2 separate regions of the Homo sapiens genome follow, and region 1 is linked to region 2. The links are contacts of gene promoters, found by promoter capture Hi-C in blood cells and fetal thymus (Javierre and others, 2016). All regions are on one chromosome and are shown on one strand. Each heading gives the region's core, a stretch centred on a gene start or on the middle of the fragment in contact. The rest is flanking DNA. Distances are from core to core; before and after follow the strand shown. Region 1 holds the start of NCK1-DT (NCK1 divergent transcript). Region 2 holds the start of PPP2R3A (protein phosphatase 2 regulatory subunit B''alpha).

Evidence for each region. The method cuts DNA at HindIII sites, captures the fragments that hold promoters and counts their contacts. A CHiCAGO score of 5 or more calls a contact.
Region 1: a fragment that was not itself captured here is called in contact with the fragment with the promoter of PPP2R3A in region 2 in 1 of 17 cell types (fetal thymus); the score reaches 5.2 in fetal thymus.

The regions. Positions count from the first base shown.
Region 1 is chr3:136,856,376-136,862,949 of GRCh38, forward strand. NCK1-DT (NCK1 divergent transcript) reads right to left here and starts at 5,688. Exons shown (of 3, transcript NR_110177.1): 1 at 5,372-5,688. NCK1 (NCK adaptor protein 1) reads left to right here and starts at 5,833. Exons shown (of 4, transcript NM_001291999.2): 1 at 5,833-5,978. RefSeq lists enhancers at 4,762-4,811, 5,372-5,431, 6,492-6,571 and a silencer at 5,792-5,851. The HindIII fragment of the contact is 1,182 bases long and covers 3,603-4,784 here.
Region 2 is chr3:135,960,556-135,967,297 of GRCh38, forward strand. It overlaps PPP2R3A (protein phosphatase 2 regulatory subunit B''alpha), which reads left to right and starts at 5,173. Exons shown (of 14, transcript NM_002718.5): 1 at 5,173-5,294. RefSeq lists an enhancer at 4,747-5,565 and silencers at 5,010-5,239, 5,370-5,649. The HindIII fragment of the contact is 2,094 bases long and covers 3,984-6,077 here.

The DNA.
Region 1 (6,574 bases), core at 2,944-5,443, 890 kb after region 2:
CGTTGGGGTAGGGTCTGCTTATCCTCAGTTATGTAGATCTCTTCCAAGGCTGCCCTTGTTTATGATTTTGTGGCTAGTGTATGTGTGAGCTGCAGTAAAAGTACTCCTTACTCCTGAAAAAGGCACCAACAGTAATCATAATGTAGCAGAAAATTGACATGGTATCCTGAGATTCTTTTCAAAAAGGTCTAAAAGTCTGTAAAAGCACATATGATGGCATTAAGTCTAATTTTGGCCATTCTTACCAATTTAGCACAAATAAATGATATGGTACTGTTTATTAAACTATTGTCTCAGGTCCACATTCCCCCTTCTATACATTTCTCTGTAATGCTGTGGCTCAAACCCTGCAAACTACATTTTTTTCTATGTCAGCTGGTGTCTCACTAGGTTCCATCAATAAAGGGCATTAGAGGGAGACTGGAAGGCAGAAGGGAAGAAGGGACTTCCTCCTTTCCATTTGTTTGCAGTTTCTGTCACTGTTATCCCAGCAACAAGCAAGAGCCCTTTGCTCCAGCAGCAGCAATTGATTTCAGCCTTGAGCTTCTTTTGACATCCTCCCCATCCACAACTAGCCTCATCATATCCTTCCCTGAAGTAGTAGGATCAGCCAGACAGCATCCTCTCAGGGGTCTGAGCAATACTCAGCCAGGTCATTTGTCTGAGTTTCTGAGACCTGATAATCCACCTTGAGTCCCCATTTTCACTAGATCTATCATTGACAGCTGCTCCCTGCAGTTATCACCTCTGGGTAACCTCAGTGTTCCGTTTTTGCTTTTTCAGTCAATGAAAACTCAATACTAAATCCTCTCTGTAGTAATATCATCTAATTTCTGATTTCCTGACTAACATATCTCTAAACCTTCCCCAAAGGAAACTACAGCCATCAGCAGGGTACTGTGCTTTGGGAAAATGTCAACATTTAGATTTTTTCAGGGATTACTAGACAGTGGCTCTCAATAGAAATTATACAAACTGAAAAAAGAATGAACAGAGCCTGAATGACCTGTACTAAGTACTGAGAAGTCTAGCATGAGTGTAATTGTAGTCCCAGAAGAAGAGGAGAAACAGAATGGGACAGAAAAAAAAATTTGAAGAAATACTGGACAAAAGTCTTCCAAATTTGATAAAAAAAAAAAAAGAAAAGAAAAGAAAATGAGAAACCAGCAATCCACAGACCCAGGGAATGAAATGAACCCCAAGCAGGATAAATACAAAACCAAAACCAAAACAAACATCACAGTGTAATGAAACATCACAGTGTAATGAAACATCACAGTGTAACTTTTGATAAATATAATGAAAATCTTATAAGCATTCATAGAAAAAGACACCTAGAAACATCAGTGTTAACTTTTGATAAATATAAACAAAATCTTAAAAGCATTCATAGAAAAAGGCATAAGACATACAAGAAAACAATGATAAGAATTACAACTAGTTTCTCACAGATATAATGGAGGCTGGAAAACGAGAATGACATCTTTAAAGTGCTGAAAACAAAAACAAAAACCCTTTGAATGGCTTCTCATTGCCTATAGGATAAACTCTAAGGTGCCTGACTTCCATAACCTGGTTATTGATTATATTTCTAGCTATCTTCTGCTCTAGCAATATTCTACTATCGTTTAATACCTTTTTATTATGCAGGCTCCTCTATGTGGACAGATTTTTTCTAGTTAATTGCCTGACTAACCTGGCCACACAACTCCTTTCCCCTGTGGCTTAATGTCCTCCTTGCACTGGACTGTCTATAACAATTTCTAACTATAAGCTATCAGGTTTCTGGGAAAGGTCTTGACATGGAGGCTCATTTTTCCCTTTCTTGTGTTCCCAAATTCTTTTATTTTGGATTAATAAAGTAAGCCACCTGCGTGTTTTTAATCATAGACAGATTAGCTGCCCATATCCAAAGCTCCACGTGTAGTCCCTAGATAAGTTTTGTTTTTGTTTTGAGATGTGGTGTGATCATAGCTCATTGCAGCCTCAAATTCCTGGGCTCAAGCCATCCTCCCACCTCAGCCTCCAGAGTGGCTGGGACTACAGGCACATGCCACTATGCCCAGCTGATTAAAAAAAATTTTGTTTTGTAGAGACAGGGTCTAGCTCTGTTGCCAGGGCTGATCATAAGTTTTGACTTACATTTTCTTGTTGCCTGATTCTGGTTAGTCCCTGATCCACTCAGCACTAATTAGCAAGGATGATTCCTGTTTTTGGTTTGAGTTCCCCTGAAAGAGAGGAAGCAGCAGCCATGTGCATGTTTATATTTGGAAGCTGGGGAGACAGACTGTGTGAAAGGAAGTCTCTGGGACAGCTCCCACCCCATTAAAACATGTACTGCATCCCTTCTAAGTGCAATTACATACATGCCTTTCTGCCTATCTGCCCTTCCAGTCTATGCTTTCCTTTTTCATTGCTGTTTGCTTATTTTTCTTCTTTGACTCCTCTTTTGCATATATTTTTGGAGGTTTCTTAAATTTTTTTAAAGAGTTCCTGTTAAGAATGAGTGATGAGAAAGATTAAAGAAGGAAAATTAAGAGGATAAACTAGCTGGGTGCTGTGGCTCACGCCTGTAATCCCAACACTTTGGGAGGCTGAGGTGGGTGGATCACCTGAGGTCAGGGGTTTGAGACAAGCCTGGCCAACATTGTGAAACCCCGTCTCTACTAAAAATACAAAAAATTAGCCAGGTGTGGTGGTGTGTGCCTGTAGTCCCAGCAACTTGGGAGGCTGAGGCAGGAGAATTGCTTGAACCCGGGAGGTGGAGGTTGCAATAAGCTGAGGTGGTGCCACTGCACTCCAACCTGGGCAAAAAAGCGAGACTCCATCTCAAAAAACAAACAAACAAACAAAAACCCTAAATGTATGACTTCAGCATACTTTTTGCTGGGTTAATTTTCCCCACTTAAGGTGGTGGTAAGCTACATGAAGGCAAGAACTGTATTTCTGTATTTTACCTGTTGTATTTATATTCACACCTTCTGCCTCCATCGTATGTTAAATATGTAATTAGAATTAAAATTGAGTCACGCTGTGCTAACAGTTTGATGGGTGATTTTGCAGCAACAGTTTTAACTCTGGACAAGTTTCTTCAAAAATGAATATAATATCTCAGTCTGTAAACTTTATAAAATGTATCAACAAATAAAACCATTGTATTAGCTTGGGCTGCCATAATAAAATACTAGATTGGGTGGCTTACACAACAGAAGTTTATTTTTTCAAAGTTATGTAGGTTGGGAGGTCCAAAAGAGGGTGCCAGCATGGTCAGTTTTGGGTGAGGGCTCTCTCTCTGGCTTGCAGATGTCTGTCTGCTTGCTGTGTTCTCAAATGGAGAGAGCTCTCTGGTGCCACTTTCTATAAAGACATTAATCTTATGGGATTAGGGCCCCACCCTTATGACCTAATTTAATTTTTATTACCTCCCTAAAGGCCTAGCTCCAACTAGAGATGGTCCCTGACTTAAGATTTTTTTGACTTTATGATGGTCCAAAAGCCATATGCACTCTAGAATCTGTACTTTGAGTACCCATAAAACCATCCAGTTTTTCATTCAGTATTTAGTAGATTACATGAAATACTCAATACTTTATTAAAAAATAAGCTTTGTATTAGATGATTTTGCCTAACTGAAAGCTAATGTAAGTATTCTGAGCATGTTTTAGGTAGGCTACTCTAAGCTATGATGTTTGGTAGGTTAGAAGCATTAAATGCATTTCTGACTTAAGATCTTTTCAACTTAAGGTATTTTCAGTTTATGGTGGGTTTATTGGAACATAACCCCTTTGTAAGTTAAGGAACATTTATATAGTCACATTAGGAGTGAGGGCTTCAGTATGAATTTTTGGGGGGGATGCAATTCAGTCCATACCAGTCATGATAAAATATGCAGTTATTTAAACCCTTAGAATAAACTCAAAATTCACCGCCATTATTCACTTTGGATGCTAATAACAGAATGTAGACATAGAGTAGCTGTTGCCCAGTTTCATGGTCTACTTGTCCCAGTCAACCTGAGGATAGTACAGCATAAATAGGTAAATTTGTGCTTGACCTTGTGATCCTACATATGGCAGGCTGTCTTAGTCCCTTTAGTGTTGCTAGAAAGGAATACCCAAAGCTGGATAATTTAGAAATAGAAAAGGTTTTTCGGCTTATGGTTCTGATGTCTGGAAAAGTTCAAGACTGAGCATCTGCATCTGATGGTAGCCTAAGACTGCTTCTACTCATGCCAGAAGGCAAAGGAGAGCTGGTGTGTGCAGAGATTACATGGCCAGAGAGGACGCAAAAGAAGAAAGGAAGTGCGACGTTCTTTTTAACCAGCTCTGGTGGAAATAAAGAGAACTCATTTACCCTCTCCCCAGGGAGGACATTAATCTATTCCTGAAGGAACCACCTCCATGACCCAACACTGCCCATTAGTCCCCACCTCCAACATTGGGGATCAAATTTCAACAGGAGGTTTAGGGGAACAAACATCTAAATTACAGCACAGGCCAACCACATGCATGCATTACCAATCACGTAAATAATTTTGAAGTTAAATGCAGAAAACTGCAAACTTTTGAGGCTGATATCCAGGGCCAGGATTAAAATAAAAAGTATTAATGCCTTAAACAGTATTTACTGACCATCTACCCTACTGCAAGGCCCTAGGGAGAAACTGAACAGACATGGTTACTGATTCAACGGAGTTTACAATCTAGGTAGACATACAGGCAAACCATTTCAATAGCTCGGATGGAGAAAACACCTGTGCTCCAAGGAAGGTACCTAACTGAGCAAGCTTCCCTGAGGAGCGATCCTAAACTGTGCCACAAAGATGGTTAAGAAGAGATGAGGCGGCTGGGCGTGGTGGCTCACGCCTGTAATCCCAGCACTTTGGGAGGCCGAGGCTGGCGAATCACGAGGTCAAGAGATCGAGACCATCCTGGTGAAACCCCGTCACTGCTAAAAATACAAAAACATTAGCTGGGCGTGGTGGTACATGCCTGTAATCCCAGCTACTCGGGAGGCTGAGGCAGGAGAATAGCTTGAACCCGGAGGCGGAGGTTGCAGTGAGCCGAGATCGTGCCACTGCACTCCACCCTGGCGACAGAGCGAAACTCGTTTCAAAAAAAAAAAAAAAAGAGGCAGGTTACGGCGCGGGGGCGGGGAAGGGGGCCTGCAGCACCGGCGAGGGGAAGAACCAACTTACTGATGCCTCAGCCAGTGGCTGGAGCCCTAAGAATGGACAGACCTGGCTCCGAAGGTCCTCTTCATAACACTACTGCCGCCAAGAATGTAAGCTGCCCAAGCACGAGGACACTTTTAGAGGGCCCTCAGACTCAGCTTCTTTTGGTCTGTGCCTCAAATTAAGCACATGTCTTACATTTCTCCCAGGTCCCAATTTTCAGGTCTGCTTTTCTTTGTTTTTCTTTGTCGCTCCCCGCTCCTAAGAACCTTCGGCTGGGATGACATTCTTCAGGTGCAGAAACCAGGGGGAAGCTCCCAGAGCAGTGGGGGCTGAACTCAGGACACAGTCATTTTTGCTGTTAAGTCTCTCCTGCGGCGCTGAGGAGGCAGGCTCAAAGTAACCAACCAGAGCAGCCGCAGAGGGAAAAGCTAAGACAGTTCTGGTCCGGCCCAGCGCTTCTCACCCTCTAGCTCTCTACTCTCCGCCGCGCAGCCTCCGCTCCCTCCACATCAGGCACGGCGCTTGATTGACATGAGGGCCCGCCCAATCCCAGTGCGGCAGAGACCGTTGTCGCGTCAGGGACCGGGGAAGGGGGCGACTGAACCTATCAGATTGGGTCCAGAGTGGGTTTCCTGCCCGCGCGGATCCGCCTGCCCACCGCGCGTGCCCCGCCTCTCTCCCAAGAGCTACGCGGCGGCGGCGGAGCGCAGGCCTCGTGCCGTTACGGCCATCACGGCGGCCGCAGTGGCGTCCTGGAGCCCTCCTCAGGTGAGCTGGAGCTGCCCGGCTCGGCAGCGGGAAGGTGAGACGGCCTTGTTGGCAGGCAGACACACACACACCCCCCTTCAGTCCGCTGTCCGTCCATACAGCCTGTTACTCGCTGCGTCGCTTCCTCTTCTCGCGCTGAGTTAGCCCCGGGGGCGCCGTCTGCAGGCTCGGAGCCGAGCCGGAGGGGGCGCGGAGGCTGCTCGGAGGGTCCAGACTTCTGCACCGGGATTCCGCGAGACCCTCGGGCCGTTGCCCCAGGGAGCGTGACCCCGCGGCCTCCTTGTCAGCCCCTGGAGCGCTGTGTCGGGCTGAGAGCCCGGGCGGCCGCCCGTGCGAGCCTGGGAGGTCGAGTGTGCGGCGCGCTGGTTGACTTGTCTGTTTTCTCATGAAAAAGTCCTTTTGCCAGCTGTGGCGTAATCCGAGGCCGGGAAGGTAGGGACGTGGTAGGAGGAAGGGCGCTCTCACCTCCAGCCCGAGAGGAGGGGAGGCGTCAGCCTGCGCGGTGCTGCGGGTGGACATCTTCGGGACGCGCCCTCTCCCCTCCCCCCACCCACCGGCCGTTTTCTAGTCTGGGGCTGTGACTTTAATGGTCTGGACCTGCTTCAGATTCGTACGCGAGTTGCTGGGGCT
Region 2 (6,742 bases), core at 3,923-6,422:
ATTTGGTCTTTTGAGGTAAACTTCTGTATCTTGTAGGTGGTCTTCATTTATTTTCATTCTTTTTTCTCTTCTGATTGCATATGTTCACATAGCCTGTCTTCAAGCTGACTGATTCTTCCCCTGCTTGATCCGTTCTGCTCTTGAGGGTCTCTAATGAAATTTTTAGTACAGCAAGTGTATTTCTCACTTCCAAAACATCTATGGGATTGTTTTAATTACTTCAATATTTTTGTTAAATTTCTCTGATAAATTTCTGAAATGGTTTTCTGTGTTATCTTGGAGATCACTGAGTTTCCTTAAAAGTGCTATTTTGGAGGATTTTTTTCTATTTTTGCTTTTTTATATTTTTTTTATTTTTGACACAGGGTCTCGCTCTGTCACCCAGGCTGGAGTGCAGTGGTGCCAGCATAGTTCACTGCAGCCTCGAACTCCTGGACTCAAGTGATCCTCCCACCCCAGCCTCCTGAGTAGCTGGAACTGGAGATGTGCACCATTATACCCAGCTATTGGTTTTTTAATTTTTTATTTGTGGAGATGGAATCTTGCTATGTTGCCCAGGCTGGTCTCAAACTCCTGGCCTCAAGTGAACCTCTTGCTTCAGCCTCACAATGTGCTGAGATTATAGGCATGAGCCACCATGCCCAGCCAAAATTGCTGTTTTGAACTATTGGTCATAGAGGTCACATATTGCCATCTCATTAAAGTCAGTTACTGGTCCCTTGCTTTGCCCATTTGGGGAGTTTGTGGTTCCCTGTTTGCTATTGTTTCTTGTGATGTATATCCATGTCTTTGCACTAAAGGGTAGTTTATTCCAGTCTTCTCTGTCTGACTTGTTTTGGGTTTTATTGAATATATTTGCTTAAAGATTCTTCACTGCTACATTTCTGCCTCCTTTTCAGCTCTAGGTGGTGTCTTAAGCCCAGGTCCACCTCAGCTCTAGTAAATGGAAGGTATCCTGGGATATCCCAGCAATGTGGGAAGGCTGGCTAGGGGTTTGTGCCCAAAGTATCTGCAGAATGTACCTCCTACATCATGTTGCTGCTGAACAGACACTCTGATTTAATGTCTCCTTTGGCTCAGTTACAGAGCAGTTTCCAGTTCTGGGGATGGTAGTTCTGCCTCTCGATTTGCCTTTGCCCATCCTCCGGGATATTTCTCCCTTAAGGGACTTGCAATGTTTCTGTGGGCTAAGACAGGGACAAGTCTCCTGCCAAGGATCCCAAGATGGTGGGGAGCTGGTTGTCCACCGTGATCTCACTTTTTCCAGTGTATAAACTGATTTAGGAGGAAACTTTTTGAATGCTTGGTGCTGGACAGAATAGGGGGAGGGGCATCCTGAACATGGAAGTCATTCTCTTACCATCTGCTTGGAGCTTTTTCACTTCTTTGTGACCCTGCAAACTGTCTCATCCTCATATTTCAGTTTTGGGATATTATTGATGGTAATCTTGGTGTTGTGTATTTGGGTTTGGTCTTCTTTTTCTGGGGAAAAGGGGGAGCCGGCTTGCTTCTATGCTGCCATTTTGGAACCAGAAGTCTCACATTTAATATGACTATTGATATGGTTGGATGTAAGTCTATCGTCTGCTGTACTGGAAATTGGAAGTCTGTTGCACTTCTTAGATCTGTGAGTATATAGTTTTCATAAATTTTGGAAACTTTTGGCTAGTATTTCTTCAGATACTTTTTGTCTTCACTCCTCTCCTTTGGAGATTCCACATATTAGGCCACTTGTAGTTGCTCTTTAGCTCACTGATGCTCTTTTCATTAACATTTCTCTTTCTGTGTGTTTCATTTTGGATAATTTCTATTGATGTGACTAATCTTTTCTTTGGTAATGTCTAATTTGCCATTAATCCAATCTAATGTATTTTTATTCTAGACATTATAGTCTTCAACTATAGAAATACAATTTGTGTCTTTTTTACATCTTCCCTTTTTAATATGTACTTAACTTTTTTGGCATTTGGAATATAGTTATAGTAATTGTGGTTTTGTTTGTTTGTTTGTTTGTTTTTGTTTTTGTTTGAGATGGAGCCACTCTGTTGCCCAGGCTGGAGTGCAGTGGCACGATCTCGGCTCACCACAACCTCTGCCTCCCGGGTTCAAGCGATTCTTCTGCCTTAGCCTCCCAAGTAGCTGGGATTATAGGCGCCTGCCACCATGGCCGGCTAATTTTTTTGTATTTTTTAGTAGAGACGGGGCTTCACCATGTTGGTCAAGCTGGTCTCAAACTCCTGACCTCGGGTAATCCACCCATATTAGCCCCACAAAGCGCTGGGATTACAGGTTTGAGCCACCATGCCCAGCCATAGTAATTGTTTTAATGTCTTTCTCTGCTAATTCTAACATCTGTGATAGTTCTGGTCTATTTTTGATTTGTTGATTTTTCTATTCATTATGGGTTATACTTTTCTAAATTGATCAAGCCTCTAGTAACTATCCTTTATGGGAAATACAAGGTTAGAGGCACATGTTAAAGAACATCACAGCAATCAGCAAAATGCAGAATGTGGGAAACTCCTTATAACAATCTATTTCTTCAATATAAAAGTACAAGGAAAGAAAAAGGTGTAAGACATTTTAACCAAATGCATTGTGAGGAACTTGTTTGGATCATGACTGGAAGAAGTAAACTACATGAAACATTTATGAGAAAATTGGGAAATTTTGAACACTGTCTAGATGTTAATAAATTATTACTTTAAAAGACAATTTAATGATTTTGTGGTTGTTTTTAAAAATAGACCTTATCATTTAGAGATGCATAGTGAAATATTTATGGATGAAATAATAATGCTCCATGTGATTTGCCTTAAAATAATCCAAGGAGGGAAAGAAAAGGTGAGGGTACAGATGGAACAAATTGGTCATGGGATAATTGTTGAAGCCAAGTAATGGGTGCATAGTAGTTAATTATATTATTCTGTCTCTGTTTTCAATATTTGATATTTTTATACTAAAAAAAATTTCAGATGTTTTCTTGTCTAATAAGACTTGCCCTACTCTCTTCCTATACCTCATAGAATTAATTGTGCTCATGACTGCTCCCCTACCGTCATGTAATTTAAACATTTATTTTCAAATCTTTCTCCCTTACTTGGCCATAAGCTCCTTGAGAACAAAGATTGACAGAGTTTCACTCTGATCACCCAGGCTGGAGTGCAATGGAGAGATCTCGGCTCACTGCAACCTCCACCTCCCGGGTTCAAGTGATTCTCCCGCCTCAGCCTTCTGAGTAGCTGGGATTACAGACGCGTGCCACCACGCCTGGCTAATTTTTGTATTTTTAGTAGAGATGGGTTTTCACCATGTTTACCAGGCTGGTCTCAAACTCCTGGCCTCAGGTGATCCACCCTCCTTGGCCTCCCAAAGTGCTGGGATTTCAAGCGTGAGCCACCACGCCCAGCCCCTGTATCTTCTTTATTTTATATCATTTGTATTCCTACCACCTAGTACAGTCTGAGTACTCAATACATTGTGGTGAATTGGCAACTCTCTAGCCCCAATTCACCATGGTCCTCATGACAGAGAGACTAACTCTATTGTATTGAATCAAATTTCCAGTCACGTATTGTGTCCTTTATACATTCAAGTTATAATGTGTATAAATGCATGGCAAAAGGGCCAAAGGAGCCCTAATGTAAAAACATTGGCAATAAAACTGTTGAGACAAACCAAGAATCCAGGTTGCCAGGGTCAGCAGTTTTAACATTGTTTTATGGTACATTGTGTACTTTTCCTTCTTACTGATATGCATTGCACTGTGACCTTTGCAGAGTCCTATCCTGCCCTGCATTTTTCACAGAGTTGCTCTCAGTCTCAAATAAGATACCATATGCATGTGAAAGGGCTTTTGAAATGGAAAAGCAGTAGAAAGTTGAAAGTAAAATGGTCTCTTTCTCTCTAGGGCATCAAGGCATCTCACAGAGCACACTTTAGCTACTGGGAGGATTGACCTTGGGTGAAATTTCAGTATGTAAAGCTTGTTTGGGGTTATCTTACATAATTTTTTCTTTCCTTGTGCTATACACACACACACACATATATGTGCATATATGTACAATGCACATATATACACACACACATATGGCACCTAGTATATGCTTGGTGCTATGCTAGGTGCTGGGGAGACAGTGAGAACAACCCAGGTGCCCAGGACCTGTCCTCACAGCCCACCTAATCCTTTTAAGTCTTTACATACCTCCCATCCCCCACCCCCATGCTCCTTACTCATGGTATTCAACCCAACTGATTGACTTATTTATTGTTATTTATATGCTTATATATTTATAGATTTATCATTTTATCAAGATTTTTACGAAGATACTCAATTGGAGGTTCCTAATTCTGGAGAAATTTCCATTTTACAAATATATTCTTGGAGAGGGCATGATTATGGACCTGTCACATTTGAGTACTGTGGCAGTTAGAAGGAGGGCAATTTTGGGAGGCCCTTCCAGGCTATGTCCTTCCAGCTATTAATGAGGTTCTGTTTCAGAGCAGACCATATTACACGGTGTTATTAATAAATCTGGCGAGTGGTTATAAGGGTGTGTGTATCGGAATAATCCATTAAGCTGTACATTGGTTTTATATGGCTGTCTATATTTGTGTTTTATTTAACAGTAACAGTTAACAATAACAGTTAAAAATAAGTATCACTTCTTTTAAAATTCACACAACTTCTTGGGCTGAGTGAAATGTGGCGCAGGTGCAGGACTGTGGGAAGACAGGAGCGCCAGGGAATGTCTGGCCAGCAGCGCGCTGCCCTCAAGGGGCCTCCTTGAAGGCCCCTTGAAGAGGGCAACACAACTAATGACGATAACAATAACAACGATGACAATATTGACGATGACAATAACAGTAATAAATCCGAGCAAGAGACTCGAATCTGTCAAACAGCAGCGACCACCACGAATCGCATCCCCGCGGCGCCGCCATACAGGAGACTGCCCTCGCCGAGGCCACAGCGGCTCTCGCGGCGCCCCTGGAGGCCCCCTTCCTGCCTTGGCCAGAGGGGCGGGGCGTAGGCTGGGGGCGGGGCCGGAGAGTGGGCGGGGCCTGGCGCGTGGGCGGGGCTCCGGGCGGGCCGGCCGCCGAGGGTGGGGCCGAGGAGGAGGAGGAGGAGGAGGAGAAGGAGGTAGGGGCCTGCGGGTGGCTGGGCGGGGCGCGCTCGGGCCTCCGCTCTTCACGCGCCGCATTCGTAGCCCGAGAGTCCGCGCCGCGGGGAGGCTTGGAGGCAAGCGCTGCCCGCGAGCTGAGCCGCCGGAGGAGGAGCCGCGGGCAACGAGGTAGGCAAAGGAACACTGGCCGCACGGCCTGGAGCCTTCAGCTCCCTCGTCCCGGCCCGAGGGGGTGGCGAGGCTCGGGGCGGCGCGCGGAGGCCGGGGCGGGCGGGGCCGGGACCTGGGGGCGGGGACCGGCCTGGCCAGAGGGGCCACACGGAGCTGATTGGGCTGTGGAAGTCGGAATTCCAGTCGGTGCGGTGCGGTGCGGTGCGTTGCCTCGGCGCGGCCGGCCGGTCCCGGGACACGGCACCAGGGAGGTGTGGAAATTGCCTGCCCCAGGGGCGCCCGCGGAGGAGGGTAGGCGGGGGCGGCCTGGGCCCTCCCACTTTTCAGGGCTCCTGGGCCAGTTCGCCCGCACAGCCCTCGGGAACTTGTTAACAGGAAAGCCTGGCAGAGAAACAAATGCCAGCGTTTTGGAAGAACTGAGAGTCACGTCGTTAGGCGCTGAGGCTTTCTTTTCCTTCCCCGCCCCCTGCCCAACCTCGGCCCGACTTGGCCAAAGAAGGATGTGTCACCAGCTCCGGGCCGCGGACGGGATTCCCGGCCCGCCAGGAGCCGGGGTACCTGAAACAAAGGTAAACGGAGGCCGGGCGGCCCCTGGTCCTGCACCGCGGCCGCGCTGGAGCGCCTCGGTGGGTCTCTCCCGCGCCGACCTGGCCGCCGCCGCCGCGGAGGGGCGTTCTCCTGGGGGACCTCTCGATGGAAACCAGCTGGCCGGGCTTGGAGTTGATGTTGCATCCGAACTCTGTTGTGCTCCCGTTATTCCCAGTCCTCCCACTCTGGTAAAGCTTAAGGAAATTTTATCCAGTCTTGGTGGTCAGCAAATGTAGGGGAAGACAAATTATTGTTTGTAAATTATAAGGTATTTTCTAATTAGGAAATGGCCTGAAAACATTAAATTCTTAACACGTAAGCAAAAAAAGAGTAATTCCTTCCAACATCTGAGGAAGTATTCCTCCTCAAATCTTCATTTATGTACAAAACATCCCCCACACCTTTGGTGCCAGGCATTTTTCTTTGTTCTTCCTTAGTCTCAGGCCTTAGTTTCTTGTAAACAGAACCCAGCGCCTAGACCCTAAGAATTGCCATACTAGGTCAGAGCATGGGCGTCCAGTTCAGTAGGCAGCCGGCTTGTGTTGTAGTAAAACTGTTGTTTTTTTTTCTTGGTGGTATGTTAAAAATTATCTCAGTTTCTTTCAGTAGTCCATGAAAGCCTTTTAAAAATTTTCTAAGCCACTGCTAATTTACACACACAATTTATTTACATTTATTGCATCCAAATGGCCCTTTTATCACCTCTGGCAGAAGAACTTAATGGCATGAGATACTTGTGGAAAAAAACTTAGATCTTTTATACAATCTAGGAGCTCAGAAATCTAGGAGATTTCTAGGAGAACGGGGAAACAGATCAAAAAGGTTTTTAAAAAACAAAGCTTTGGGAAAGTGTTACT